Regions from separate parts of the Homo sapiens genome. Here regions 2, 3, 4 and 5 are each linked to region 1. The links are contacts of gene promoters, found by promoter capture Hi-C in blood cells and fetal thymus (Javierre and others, 2016). All regions are on one chromosome and are shown on one strand. Each heading gives the region's core, a stretch centred on a gene start or on the middle of the fragment in contact. The rest is flanking DNA. Distances are from core to core; before and after follow the strand shown.

What was found. Contacts are between HindIII fragments. The CHiCAGO score rates a contact against its expected background, and 5 or more counts as called.
Region 2: a contact is called between a fragment that was not itself captured here and the fragment with the promoter of LOXHD1 in region 1, in 2 of 17 cell types (M1 macrophages and monocytes). The highest score is 5.7, in M1 macrophages.
Region 3: a fragment that was not itself captured here is called in contact with the fragment with the promoter of LOXHD1 in region 1 in 14 of 17 cell types (M0 macrophages, total CD8 T cells, megakaryocytes and 11 more); the score reaches 17.2 in M0 macrophages.
Region 4: the fragment with the promoter of ELOA2 here is called in contact with the fragment with the promoter of LOXHD1 in region 1 in 4 of 17 cell types (M2 macrophages, megakaryocytes, endothelial precursors and 1 more); the score reaches 9.0 in M2 macrophages.
Region 5: the fragment with the promoter of PIAS2 here is called in contact with the fragment with the promoter of LOXHD1 in region 1 in 6 of 17 cell types (endothelial precursors, M0 macrophages, megakaryocytes and 3 more); the score reaches 11.5 in endothelial precursors.

What each region holds. Positions count from the first base shown.
Region 1 is chr18:46,655,852-46,658,548 of GRCh38, reverse strand. LOXHD1 (lipoxygenase homology PLAT domains 1) reads left to right here and starts at 1,329. Exons shown (of 41, transcript NM_001384474.1): 1 at 1,329-1,645. The coding sequence starts at 1,516. RefSeq lists enhancers at 272-321, 132-1,081. The HindIII fragment of the contact is 3,833 bases long and covers 1-2,697 here.
Region 2 is chr18:46,264,422-46,267,118 of GRCh38, reverse strand. ARK2N (arkadia (RNF111) N-terminal like PKA signaling regulator 2N) reads right to left here. Exons shown (of 5, transcript NM_145055.5): 5 at 127-2,697. Among named protein-coding and RNA genes, the nearest start is that of ARK2C, 68 kb to the left of the region's middle. The HindIII fragment of the contact is 6,556 bases long and covers 1-2,697 here.
Region 3 is chr18:46,282,340-46,285,036 of GRCh38, reverse strand. No RefSeq gene overlaps it. Among named protein-coding and RNA genes, the nearest start is that of ARK2C, 50 kb to the left of the region's middle. The HindIII fragment of the contact is 2,282 bases long and covers 217-2,498 here.
Region 4 is chr18:47,034,239-47,036,935 of GRCh38, reverse strand. ELOA2 (elongin A2) reads left to right here and starts at 1,315. Exons shown (of 1, transcript NM_016427.3): 1 at 1,315-2,697. The coding sequence starts at 1,672. All of the region lies in intron 3 of KATNAL2 (katanin catalytic subunit A1 like 2), which reads right to left. The HindIII fragment of the contact is 9,917 bases long and covers 1-2,697 here.
Region 5 is chr18:46,916,206-46,918,902 of GRCh38, reverse strand. It overlaps PIAS2 (protein inhibitor of activated STAT 2), which reads left to right and starts at 1,396. Exons shown (of 14, transcript NM_004671.5): 1 at 1,396-1,581. The coding sequence starts at 1,558. KATNAL2 (katanin catalytic subunit A1 like 2) reads right to left here and starts at 1,301. Exons shown (of 18, transcript NM_001387690.1): 1 at 977-1,301. RefSeq lists silencers at 1,137-1,876, 1,947-2,026 and an enhancer at 1,247-2,000. The HindIII fragment of the contact is 2,459 bases long and covers 712-2,697 here.

The DNA.
Region 1 (2,697 bases), core at 80-2,579:
TTCTTAGTAGATTCCTAGAGATCCTTAAGGAAGGTCTCTTCCTGAAGAATCCAGGTGTGTAAACCACATATTGCCAGAAGGGGGCGCGCGCCACCCACCATTAAACTTCACTCCTGGTCCTCAGAGGACTTTGAGCTGCTTCAAGGGCGGCCCCTCAGCTGAATAGGGGAAGAGGGGAGGTTGATCTTTCCTGGGTAGGAACGTTCGGGGTTAGAGATGCCTCCCCCTAGTGGAAGATTTGGATGGCTCCAAAGAGCAGGGCAGGACCAAAGCTGCCCCAGGCTGCCGGGGAGGCCTGTGAGTGCCGACTGCTCCTCAGGCGTCCGCTCCAAATCCTCTCTTCCTCTCCACCTGAAATTCCCCTTTAGAGTCACTATTTTGGCTTAGAGGACAAAATCACACGTGTTGCTTCTAGAGGACTCCTGTTAGCACACCTAAGTTACCTGAGAAGCGATTCAGGGACCCTCAACATGGCTGCACATGAAAGTCACCAGGAGCTTTAAAAACTGGGGCCCAAGCTGCGTCCCAAACCAAGCAAATCAGAATCCTTGGGGATGGGACCCACGCATTAGCGTTCAACACCTCTCTGGGGGCTTCTGGTGTGCAGCCCGGGCTGTGCGCCCTGGGGTAGGAGCTTGCTGATGCCCTCCCGTGAGTCCAGGTGGTGAGCTGATCTAGTTAGTGAGTTCACCTGGGAGGGCATCGGCTACGATGATGTTTAAACTTTAGTGCATATAAAGCTCACCTGGCAGGGGGAGCGGGGAGAGTTTTCTGGTGCCCTAGCTTTCCTCGTGCCCAGAGGCCACTTCCGGAAGCCCGCAGTCTTGATGAGATGGAAGCAGAGAGAGAGAACGAGAAGGATCCAGCGAGAACCCCGCCTGCTCCGTAAGACGATCAGAGGTCATGAATAATGGAGAGAAACGGGGGCCTTTGAGTCCTGGGAGCCTGGCTGATTCCGGGGCCCCGCCTTCCTCAGGAGGGTCCCGTGTGGGCTGTAAGGCTTGGGAGATCTCCTGGGTGAGGAGCCCTCACCTGTCCCTGGGGTGGCCTGGAGGGATCCCAGGTGACCCCCTGGCTGTGAGGCCAGGTGGGAAATGGACTTCAAGGGCTCCGTGTCACCTGATTCTCCATAGGGAGGAGAGAGGGCTGGTGGGGAGGGGAGAGAGGAAGGAAGTCAGCCTGCCCTCAGCGCCATGAATAAGTGATGAGGCCCAAAGAGAAGCCCCGGGGCAGGTACAGAGGAGGAGGAGGTGGCTCACCAGAGGGTGGTGGGAGGGGACAGGGACAGGAGGTTCAGAGATAAGGCACTGAGGTTCAGCTCAGGAGCCAGAGAAGGCAGAGGGAACAGCACCTTGGGCACGGGGAAGCCAAGAAAACGGGGCACTCTGGCCCACCCAGGCCTGAGCTATAGGAGGGCCGTGGGCGCCAGAGCTCAGGGAGGAGGTCTCAGGTTCCCGCAGGTGTGAGGAGGCGGCACAGTGAGCCTGCGAGCGCTGGGAGAAGGCAGCCGACAGAATGATGCCCCAGAAGAAAAGGCGGAGGAAGAAGGACATCGACTTCCTGGCCCTGTACGAAGCGGAGCTGCTGAACTACGCCTCGGAGGACGACGAGGGGGAGCTGGAACACGAGTACTACAAGGCCAGAGGTGCGGGGTCCCAGCCTGCGGGGGGCGGGTGGTGCAGCTGGCTGCGGTGGGCAGGGGTCTGTTCCTGTCTATGGGGAGTCATTCTAAGATTTCGGAGCAAGCCCTTCCTCACTGATTATCCCATGTGTCTGTTCCATATCCCCTCGGAGTAAGAAGGCAGGCATTATGCAGGGATGGTGGGGTCCCTGTTGTACAGACAGGTGGAGCAACTTGCCTTTAGCCCCCGATTCTCAGTGGAACAGAATAGACTAGAGCCACAGTGCCCCCATGGCCCCATGTTCTCCAGCTCCTGAACATCCCCAAAGCCACGTTCCAGTCTGGTCCCCGAGTAGGTGGTCTGCATCAGGCAGAGCGCCCTGAACTGCTGGGGTCATGAAAGGATGTCTTGGGGAGGAAGCCTGACAGCTCATCCTATGCCCACTGTGGTTGATGGAGACAGGGAGCCTGGGGCTTTGCAAGGAGATGTCCATCCCATATGTCGAAGGCGGCCGGTGCTCTGGACCCCAGGGCCTTGTCCTTCTAGTCTCATCTTTCCCTGGGCCACATGAGACCTGCTTGAAATTGCTCTAACTCCTTGCCAGGTAAACCAAAGAAGTGAACTGTGACCCTAGAGCTGGTTTTGGCCAGCAGAGTTTAAGTTGTTTTTTTCCTTTCCAGCGTTTTGAAATCCTTTTTTCTGTGAATGCCAATAGGCTGTGGACGTCCAGCTTATCACAGTCTCCACCACTCCCTGTCATCTCATACTAGGTCTGGTTTACTCATCAGTGCTGCCTGCCTAGTCTCTGAAGCCATTTAAATTCTCAATGCTGACTCCAAAGTGGCTCACCAGTCCCCGTAAGCGCCATAGTCATCCATGCATTCACTCATTCATTCATTCAGCAAGTATTTATTGAATGTGTGCTCTGTGCCTGCCCATGGCCTTGTTTGTCTTCCCCTTTCTCCCTCTTCCTGTCCTCACTCTGAAAGCCCAGTTCTGATCCCATCTCTTCCATGAAGCCCTCCTTGATTCCAGTCCACCATGAGTTCCCTGATTACATCCAATTCATAATTGT
Region 2 (2,697 bases), core at 89-2,588, 390 kb after region 1:
AAGACTTGTTAACAAAATAGAATCCACTTTCACATTTAAAAGGTAACTTGGAAATTGCTCCAGGTACCACCTAATTAACTGAAGCAGATAGGGACAAAGAAAAAAAAAAAAAAACCTCAGAAGATATCATTGTTTAAATACACTCTATTTTATTTTGTCTTAAAATAGTTTAACCTTTATGCTACAGACTTATTTCAAAAAACAGAAAATCTTATCTTGCACCAAAAAATATATATATAACACTCTGTTTTATTATTTTTTCTCCAAAGACCATTAAATACTAAAGGGAAACAAAAACGAAATAATGAATGTAAAGAACCAAATTTTGTTTTAAAAACTAGAGTTGCACATTTGAAAACATTAATTCTAAGCAATGATTTGTCATCACTGCATCAAGTCCACGCTCACACTCCAGCAACAGCAGATCCATTAACTGCCAAGTGCATTGGTTCCTAGCCATACAATGGCTAACATTTCATTTTCACGGTAAGAGGAGCAAAAGGCTTCAATGGCCTCTGTACTCTTTAAGAAACAAAACAACAACAAAAATATTTCCTAGTTATCCAGTGATTTTTTTTTAAGATCACTACCTTTTAAAATTTGTTAAGAGAATAAGAAGTAAGTAGTGTTTTAAATAAAATGAAAAAATACAACAGCATCAGACTAAAATACGTGATTATTTTAAACAAACAGTGCACAATCTGAGGAAGTTTGGTTAGGGCACAATCATTTTTATATCTACATGGAAGTCACATCATACACATATTGGAGAACAGGGATTGGGGAGCTTGCTTTGCCTTAAAAAAGTTTAAAACTAAAAGACAAAATAGTGTCCCCAGCTTTTTCAAAAACCTTTGTGACAGTATAAAAAGCAGGTAACAAACTTAGTTTTAAGTTAGTTATGGTGCTAATCTGCTAAAAGTAAAGATGAACAAATGACTACATTAGTAAACCAGACAATTCATATTCATAATTGATAATAAAAGCAAAGTTTATGGGATGTTTGATTGCCAAGAATAAACTGAATGAAATAAATTGAATAAAAAAGAATGCATTATTCATTCAGTCTGGCCCCTACCATCAAAATGAAAAGACAATTACTGGAGAGCAGCAATTACAGGTTACATGGCAGTCATGATGATGCAACAGCTAGGTCACTGCTCTGTTTTTCACAAATTGGAGGGGGTGGAAACTTAACCAAGTCAGTGGCATAAACCAATCTGTGACCCACATGTACCATTTTAGCAGAGAGATTACTCTGAAGACAATGTCCTGTGAAGCATAAAGAACTACTTATGCTACCAAATGTAAAACTTTGATTAAGAAAAACCCCTTTAAAAGAAACTTCAAATGTCACAGGAGCTGTATACCACGGAATTGTATCATTAATACCTTGCCTGAAACCACACTCTCCACTCTTCTGGAAACAGCAATGAAAAGAGAGTTGAAACACAGTCTCTCTATAGTTATTAGGGGAAATGACCCAACCTAGTAGGGGAGAGCTGTCTATCTCTACCATCCCTTCCCCTCCCCCTCTGCATCTTAATATCCAAATCTCCGTTCTGGTCCATTAAGTCAGGCAGTTGGGAGCTGGACTAGGAATAAGTGAGGCAAAAGTGCAAGCTGACATAAAGGCAAAGGGCCAGAGAAGAGACTGGTTACAGCTCCACTCTGTTCCTAATCCACAGTGCACACAGCACGCCAACTCTGTAGAGGATGACTATATTAGGGACTATGAAGAAAATATGTCACACGGGAAATCACCTGCTGTGTGGAATTGGGAAAAAAAATATGTGGTTAACATAAGAACAGGTCATGCAAAAACATTCATTAAAATGGGCCTCTGCCCTGACAGTGGGGGAAAAAATAAGCTGCAAAAACTTCAAGTCACATCATCCACTCTATTCTCTTCTCTATGAATTTCCTGGAAAACACAGACCAGAAATTGTACATTTCTGCTTTGTCTAGTATTTTAATTCAAGTCAAAAACTATGTGTAACAGTAAAATTCAATAAATTAATCCTAAAGTAAAATGTGAAGGTCCAAGGATACACCAGTAGTGAATCTTCAGAAGGTCCTACTTTGCTCTGGCCTCTGGGTCTTTGGTTTTTGTCTAGAATTGTGGCCATGTGAGAGACTGATATATGAGTTGCTAAAGCTGGAGGTTCATGATCTTAAAAGCCTTATCTAACAAAAGCAGAAAATAAAAATAAAAAAAATAAAAGCTGATGAAGGACAGAGGCCAGATCAAATGAGATGCTATCAGAGAAGATCAAAGAACATATGCACAAATACATTCCTGTGGAAGAAGGAACATACAGGAGAACTAATGCAACAAGAAGCGTAAAGGAATAAACTTGTCTTTACAAAAAAAAAAAAAAAAGAAGAAGATGAAGAAGAAGAAGAAGAACAGGCTGGGCAGGTGGAGGCAGGCAGACACTGATGCATGTGTATGTGCGGTGTGTGTCATTCATCTCAGCAGCCCCCAGAGCACCCACCCCTCACAGTGCCTTATGCAGAGCAGGCACTTGGTAAATTTGTTTGCTGAATGAAAACTGAAAATGGTAATTCTCATACTCTTAATGATAAGAAGAGCCACCAGGGGATTTGGAGAGACAGGCAAAGGGCCATAGCAACGGTAACAATGGAAACAAAAACAAAAACAAAACAAACAAAAACCATGAAAAACAAAAGGTG
Region 3 (2,697 bases), core at 108-2,607, 370 kb after region 1:
GTGTGACAGAGCAAGATCCTATCTCAAAAAAAGAAAAAAAAAAAAAAGGAAGAAAAGAAAGAAAAAGAAAACAAAATTATTTGATAACGCAAGTCCCTGGGAGTTTGATTTGACATGATTTTAATGAGTTAATTCCAGGATGGGCACAGTTCTTCGCAAAGTGCTCCCAAACCACCTGTTTAATAATTCTAGAATGCTACTGAGTGTCGTTAAGCTTACATCCCAGGAATCATGTTCTTCACTTTTTGGAAATCGGGACATTTTGCTCCCTCTGGCTGGTTGGTCCTTCCTCTCTTTCTGAACTCATCCTAAAAGTCCTGTCTCCTTCTCCGGCCATTCAGGACCACTCGGTGGACTCTCCCTTCCTGCAATTGTGGTAATTATTCAGAACCAGAATGAAACAACAGCAGTAGTAATAGCTGCCACATACTGGGAGCTTGCTCTATGCCAGACACCACGCTCAAGGACTTCACAATGCTTCATCACGTGTATCACTTAGCACTGTATCATACTTTTGAATATATATGTGTGTGTGTAAAGTTTTAATCACTTGAATAACAGCTGCTATTATGACCATTTAGCAGATGAAGAAACTGATTCAGAGAGGTTCAGGCTCCTGCACTGAGCCTTAGACAGTGAACAATTTCAGGGTCCAAACCTGGGTTTATCTGGGTCCAAAGTCCAAGTTCTTACTTCCTCTACCCTGGCATTGTTTCTGGGGCTTTCTATGATTTCTGAGGCTTCCATCTGAATATTTCTGGCACGTCCTGTGCAGCACCTAACATGGCCATAGGCACACAGTAAGGGAGTCCTTAGGGGCCAAGTGGTTTTTCTAGAGCACTGGCCGTGGTCCTGCCTCTTGTGGGTGCTGGTGTCATCTTTCACCTCTACCTCCAGGCACCGGGAGAAGCTGACTGGAGGGGATTTGGCAGAGGCCAAAGAGGGCTCAGCCCAGCTGTCTCCACCTCTCTTGCTGGATGGGAGAGGCACCACATTACAGAAACTGATATACCCAATGCCCTGAGACCCAGGGAGGGCAATCCTGTGAGAAGTTTCCACCCTTTGTTCTCTCCCACCGAGCCCCCAGGGGCTGATAATCTAATTCTCAACAAGTCCTTCCTGGCTGGTAATTGAATTGTGTTTTCCTCCCAGTCCAATCAGGGCCCTCATCCTACATCTGTCTGACAAAACACTAGGCCAGGCATCTTGGGAGGGGCAGAGACCTGGGAGGCACTTTTCAGCTTCCAGGAGCTTAATATTTCAGTTGCCACAGGTGCAGGGACTGACATCCTATTGACTAGCAATCCATGACTGCTGCCCACTTCCAGGACAATCGCTGAGGTCAGGAGGGCTCAAGGCGGTGAGCCTTAAAGGAGGGTTGTGTTGTGGAGGAGGGGATGATGGTCAGCTGGGTTCTGGTAGACAGGGAGGAAAGGCGGAGGTGTGGGCAAAGTCCTGGAGGTGGGAACATGCACGACACATTCAAGTAACAAGAAGTAAGTCTGCCTGGATGGGCCTTCACTGTCTTCAACCGAGGGATGACGAATGACTCCAAAACACTCAAATTGTTCCTGGGAAGTCGGGTGGGGGGAAGTGTGAGTCAGCAGGCTCCTCTCACTATGCCTATGGCCCAGCCTCGGTCTACAGAACAGAGAGAGCCTGGTGCTGGAACTGGGTGTGCAAGGGTGCCCCAAATCAGGACACAACCACCTCATTCGTCCAGCCCAGAAATAGGGACATTTCTTCATCTCCTCTCCCACTCCTACCTAATCTAATCTGTCTCCAAGTCCTGCCTATTTCACCATCTCAGCTCTTCAGTCATCTCTCTGGCAGGCAGGCACTGTCACATCTCCCCCGTCTCTTGGGGACGAGCCCCTCCCTGATTGCTCTCCTCCACCTTGTTGCTCTCTGGCACATCCACACATATCTCCATGTGGCTCCCCCATGCATGCCACTTTCCATGGCTTCCCAGTGCCTTTAGGTCCAGAGCCTTTTGTGGCTTTGTCCTCTCATCTGGCTGGTGCCATCTCTTGCGACTCTTAAGCTCCCCAAAACATTCTGGTTTAGTGCTGGGCCTTTAGCTCAATTTATGATTACAACGCCCATACCACCAGTGCCTTCTATATGTGCTTAATCCTCACGGAAACCCCGTGTGGAAGAGGAACAGAGAGGTTAAGTGACTTGTCTGTGGTCACACAGCTGGTAAGGGCGGAGCAGGATTCGCACCCAGGTGACTTATTCCCATAGCCCAGCTTCTTTATTTTTAGAGACAGCGTCTTGCTCTGTCACCCAGCCCAGAGTACAGGGACATGATCATAGCTCATTGGAACATTGAACTCTTGTAGTCCAGCTTCTTAACACTAGATTATAGTCTCTTCAGAAATGTCTATGGACACCAGTGGCCTCCTAGCCCTCCACATTCCCCTCCAACGTATGTTCACTATCAAGTCCCAACTGCATTTAAGGTTTCTGCTTATCTGACACCCCTCCACGAAGCTTTCTCTGGTGCCCCACTGTCCAGGTTTGGGTTAGGGTAGTGGTTCCCCTACTTTAATGCACACTGGAATTACCTGGGAATCTTTGTAAAAATCCTGCTGCCTGACTCCCACTCCTAGACATTGCGATTAAATCAGTACAGGGCGCACCCTAGACAAAAGCTCCGTAGATGACTGTAACTTGCAACAAATCTGGTAACAA
Region 4 (2,697 bases), core at 66-2,565, 380 kb before region 1:
CTATCTCCTGGCTCTGCCAGGAAACTTCCTAACTTTCAAATGCTGTACAACCCAAAAAAATGCTAGAAATATCAAAAGAAGTGTCTACAGATCCAGAAAAGACATTTATTGAATTTAATACAATGTCAGAATTGGTCAACTATGCTCAGAAACATAGGACCAAGTGTTCCCTAATTTGAGAGGGTAAATAAGTAACAACAGAAATAAGAGAAAAAACCATAGATATTTCAAATGATCCTGTTTTAATAATTGTCACTGAAAATTAAAGTCCGATCCAGATACCAAATCTGTTTCAACAATAATAGCTAGAGACAAGAGTAAAAATTTCTTTAAAGTTTTAAAACAGGTGGAAGAAGATCCAGAAATATTTATTCCAAGATTTGTAAGCGGGGATAAAACATGGCTACACTGGATAGTCCTGAAGAAAGAGCACAAAACAAAGGCTACCAAAAGGTGGCAGCACTCCAGTCAAAGACAGAGAGGACCAGTCAAGAGAAGAGGTCATGGCAACAGTTTTGGGGAATGCTCAAAAGATATGACTAAAAGACTTTTTGAAGGGCCAAACCAAGATCAAATATGCTTACTAACAGAGTTTTTGAGAAAACTAGCCAAAGCATGAGCAGAAAAACCATTACCAGAGAGTTCTACCTAATCATGAAAAAGTTCTTGCTGTAGCATTTCACTGAACAAAGGGCAGTTTGGCAAGAGTTTCAAAAGGAGATCATGAGGCGTCCACCTTGCAGTCATGATGTGGAACCTGCTGACTTCTATTTATTTCCTCGTATTAAAAATTCTGCAAACGGCACCCAGTTTTCTTCAGTTAATAATGGAAAAAAGATTTCTTGGAAATAGTTAAATTCCCAGAAACATCAGGGCTTGAGGGACAAGGCGGGGTCAAGACAGTGCTCGAACTACTGTCTCGAAATTGATGGAGCAGATGTTAAGAAATAAAATCTACCGGTTTTATTTTTGTCTTTTAATCCCTGTTTTGACAAATTTGGGAAGTCCCCTCACACAACATCAGTCCTAGGCAAAGAGTTGTTATCCTGTATTGGTTCTTCTTTCTATGATTTTGTCTTGCTGTGTTATTTTCTGTTTTACTCCCAAGAAGATTCAGTCTGTGTTTTTTGGAATTCACAGATGTGGAACCTGCGAACATGGAAGGTCAACGGTAAAACTCAGTGGGGTGTGTCGAGGCTGAAATTAACCTAATCAACCTCTGGGGCACAGCAGTCCACCTGGCGTGGACCGTCCCGATTGTCTGCATTGTGCTGACGGCATGAGTACGTATGGGGGCGGGGCAGCCCAAGAGCTAAGAGGGTCAGGGCTAGAGCCGTGAGTGTCAGCCTGGGATGGGCTACATAAGGCCCAGCTCTGGCACCAGAGCTTCATTCTTTGTTGCACAGCAAACTGCAGAGGTCACTCCAGGCTGTGGCTCCACATCCCGAGGAACAAAAGCGGGCCTGCTCAGCTGTCTGCAAGGACGGCCGTTCCAGACCAAGTGGCCTGCTGCTCCGAGGACCCAGCTCGCTCCAGGCTGTGACTCCACATCCCGAGGTCGCTGCCTGGCGACCGGGCAGCGAGGACCGGCCACCCCAGACTTCCTGTCCCGCAGCCCCAAAGACAGAGCTGCGACCGCCGGGACAGCGACGCCTGCACAGCTCTGGTGAGATGGCGGCAGGGTCCACTACGCTGCACGCAGTGGAGAAGCTGCAGGTGCGTCTGGCCACTAAGACGGAGCCGAAAAAGCTAGAGAAATATTTGCAGAAACTCTCCGCCTTGCCCATGACGGCAGACATCCTGGCGGAGACTGGAATCAGAAAGACGGTGAAGCGCCTGCGGAAGCACCAGCACGTGGGCGACTTTGCCAGAGACTTAGCGGCCCGGTGGAAGAAGCTGGTGCTCGTGGACCGAAACACCCGGCCTGGCCCACAGGACCCTGAGGAGAGCGCTTCCCGACAGCGCTTCGGGGAGGCTCTTCAGGACCAGGAAAAGGCCTGGGGCTTCCCAGAAAACGCGACGGCCCCCAGGAGCCCATCTCACAGCCCTGAGCACAGACGGACAGCACGCAGAACACCTCCGGGGCAACAGAGACCTCACCCGAGGTCTCACAGTCGCGAGCCCAGAGCTGAGAGAAAGTGCCCCAGAATAGCCCCAGCTGATTCCGGCCGCTATCGGGCCTCTCCAACGCGCACAGCTCCCCTCCGGATGCCCGAGGGCCCTGAGCCCGCTGCGCCCGGGAAGCAACCCGGAAGAGGCCACACTCACGCGGCTCAGGGCGGGCCTCTGCTGTGTCCAGGCTGCCAGGGCCAACCCCAGGGGAAAGCCGTTGTGAGCCACAGCAAGGGGCACAAATCGTCTCGCCAGGAAAAACGCCCCTTGTGTGCCCAGGGAGATTGGCACTCCCCTACTTTGATCAGGGAGAAATCATGCGGGGCCTGCTTAAGAGAGGAAACCCCAAGGATGCCCTCCTGGGCAAGTGCCAGGGACAGGCAGCCTTCGGACTTCAAGACAGACAAGGAAGGGGGGCAAGCTGGCAGCGGCCAGCGTGTCCCTGCCTTGGAGGAGGCTCCAGACAGTCACCAGAAGAGGCCTCAGCACAGTCACTCGAACAAGAAGAGGCCCAGTCTAGACGGCCGGGACCCAGGAAATGGGACACACGGCCTGTCGCCCGAGGAGAAAGAGCAGCTTTCCAAC
Region 5 (2,697 bases), core at 147-2,646, 260 kb before region 1:
GAGAGGTCATAACAGGGGAATTTGAATTAAAATGTGGGATGTGGGTGAGGGATGGTCTTCCTGAGGAAGTGACACTTAAAGTGAAACCTGAAGGATGAACAGGAGTTAGGAACAAAGAAGAGAGTGGGAAATTATTCTTGGTTCAAGGATCAACATTTAGAAGCCTTAAAACTTGAGGGGAGGCCGGGTGCAGTGGCTCACGCCTGTAATCTCAGTACTTTGGGAGGCCGAGGCGGGCGGATCACCTGAGGTCCGGAGTTGGAGACCAGCCTGACCAACTTGGAGAAACCTCGTTTCTACCAAAAATACAATCGCAGCTACTCGGGAGGCGGAGGTAGGAGAATCGCTTGAACCCGGGAGGCAGACATTGCGGTGAGCCGAGATCGTGCCATTGCACTCCAGCCTGGGCAACAAGAGCAAAACTCCGTCTCAAAAAAACAAAACTTGCGGGGTGCGGGGGCAGGGGAGTGGAAGGAAGACCTGGAAGTGCAGTGCGGATGAAACGAGGGGTAGTGGGAAGAGGCGGTAGGTAGGAGGCTGATTAAACAGGGCCTTAAAAGTTACATTGTTTTAAAGACCTCTCGTGTGTGGGTTCCACCCAATTCTTCAAGGAAATTGAACCCTGGACACCGTCCAGCGATTTTTCTGGCCATCTTGACTCAGCATCTTCCTTCATCCTATATCAGCACATTACGGGGGGGCCATCAAGCTTCCTTCTATCTACTTACTCTGCCTTGGCGTTTGACTCCTTCCTAGCTATCAGATTTCCCCGACTTTTTAGCATGGCCCTTCTGAGCGCTCTTATTTCACTTCTCCCCGCCCCCAACCCCACCGCCTAACTCTCCCAACTCTGCAGTCCGTGACCTTCAGGTGCCCTTCAAGGTCAGAAAAACTCGGCAAGGTTGGTACTTGCAGGACATTAGCAATTCAAAGAGGTGTCACACAACCTCACCATTAGATGGGAACAATAGCTTACCCAACACCCATATTTAGATTATTCCGCCACAACTACTCTGGGGGATGGTTTTATTTGCGGCGGCTTTCTCCGTCCATAGGCACCGCGTGAAGGGCACCGTAAGAATCTTCCCGAATGCTCCTGTCACGCGTCCCGGCCGCCTCTTCTTCCTCCCCGCCACTTCCCGAGGCCAGGCCCGCGGATAACGCCTCAGTTGCGACCCAGCTCTAGGCAGTCCGCAGGGGCCTCCGCCGGGGAGGGAAGGCACGACCTGGGGCCGAGCGGGGCCAAGCCGCGGGGCAGCACGCCGGGGCAGGCGCGGGCGGGCGCTGTCGCCGCGCGGACTGAAGGCGCGGGCGGAAGGCGGTCGCGCGGGTGGGCAGGGGGCACCGCTAGGGGCGGGGCTTCGGCGCGTCGGAGGCGGAGCTCCCGCGCCGTTCACGTGACGGGCCCGGCTGTAGCGGCGGCGGCCGCGGCGTCTTAAGCGGCGCCCAGTGCAGGATGGTGCTGGAGGCGGCGGCGGCCGTGGTGGCGGCAGCGTCGTTGGCGGCAGCGGGAGTGGGTGCGGCGGCAGCGGCGGCGGCGCCCGCGGGTGGTATAAAATGGCGGATTTCGAAGAGTTGAGGGTAAGCGGGAGTGGAGAGCGGAGGCCGCGGGGGAGGGGATGGGAGAGGAGGTGGGGAAACCGCAACGTCGCCGGCCGCCGCCTGCTCGTGCCTCTGGGGCCGGTTGGCGGAGCCCTGAGCCCCGGCCCGCGGACGAACGGGCGCCGAGGGCGCGGGGGAGGGGAGCGGGCCGGCGGAGGGCACGCGGGCGGCGCGGGGGCGGCGGGCCTGGGCCGCGGCGAGCCGGCTCCTGAGTGCTGCCAGTGGTCCGCACACCTGGCGCGGGGGGTCGGGGCGCCCTCCAGGAGGGGCACATGGGGACCCGACATCCCGGTTCGCAGTGAGGGCCGATGTGGGAAGCAACGTTTGATCTTGCACCTTCACCGGGGTGTACGTGTCTGTGGCTATTCACAAGTCTGCATGCTACTCACTTGGTGGAGGACTGTTTTCTGAAAGCTGAAGTTGCGTTTAGGAATCTCTCCTCTTCTTATGGCTGATGCTACCGTTTAGTCAGGTCTGTCACGAGAAAAGGCCCCTTCTCCCACCCTTGCCTCCTAACATCTTCGAGGAACCTAATGTTTGGGGATCCCTGCCTTCAATAATCGGCCTTAAACCTCGATATTTTCTTAGTGTTTTAGTAAGAAATCTGCAAAGTCTATGTTGTGAGGTTTGTGCACCCCTTTTACTCTTGAGGAAAAATATTTTTTTCTTCTCAGTCTTAAAACAAGATCATAACTTTATTGTTGATACCCTTGTATAGCAGAGGTCTGGAATAGGGCTGTGATGGGGGTAGAACAGAAGAGACTTTTTCCCCCCAGACTGATAACCTTTAAAGTCCTAACTAAGTGTGACGAATGAGATGGATTTGTGTGTATCGCTGAATTACTGGCGACATAAATGAGATGTTTACGGACAGAAACCCTGATTTTTTTTTTTTTTAAATGTATCAAGGTAGAGATGAGTGTAAACTTGAAATTACATTTACTGCAACTCGTTTGTGTAACACTTATGATATTAGGATTTCTTTTTCAAATAAGGAAGAGGAATCCGGTAAAAGGTTCAGTTTTGTATATTTATTGTTTTCCGCAAGAGATGGGATGGGGGAAGGATGTTGGCTGGTTACCTGCTTAGTGGACG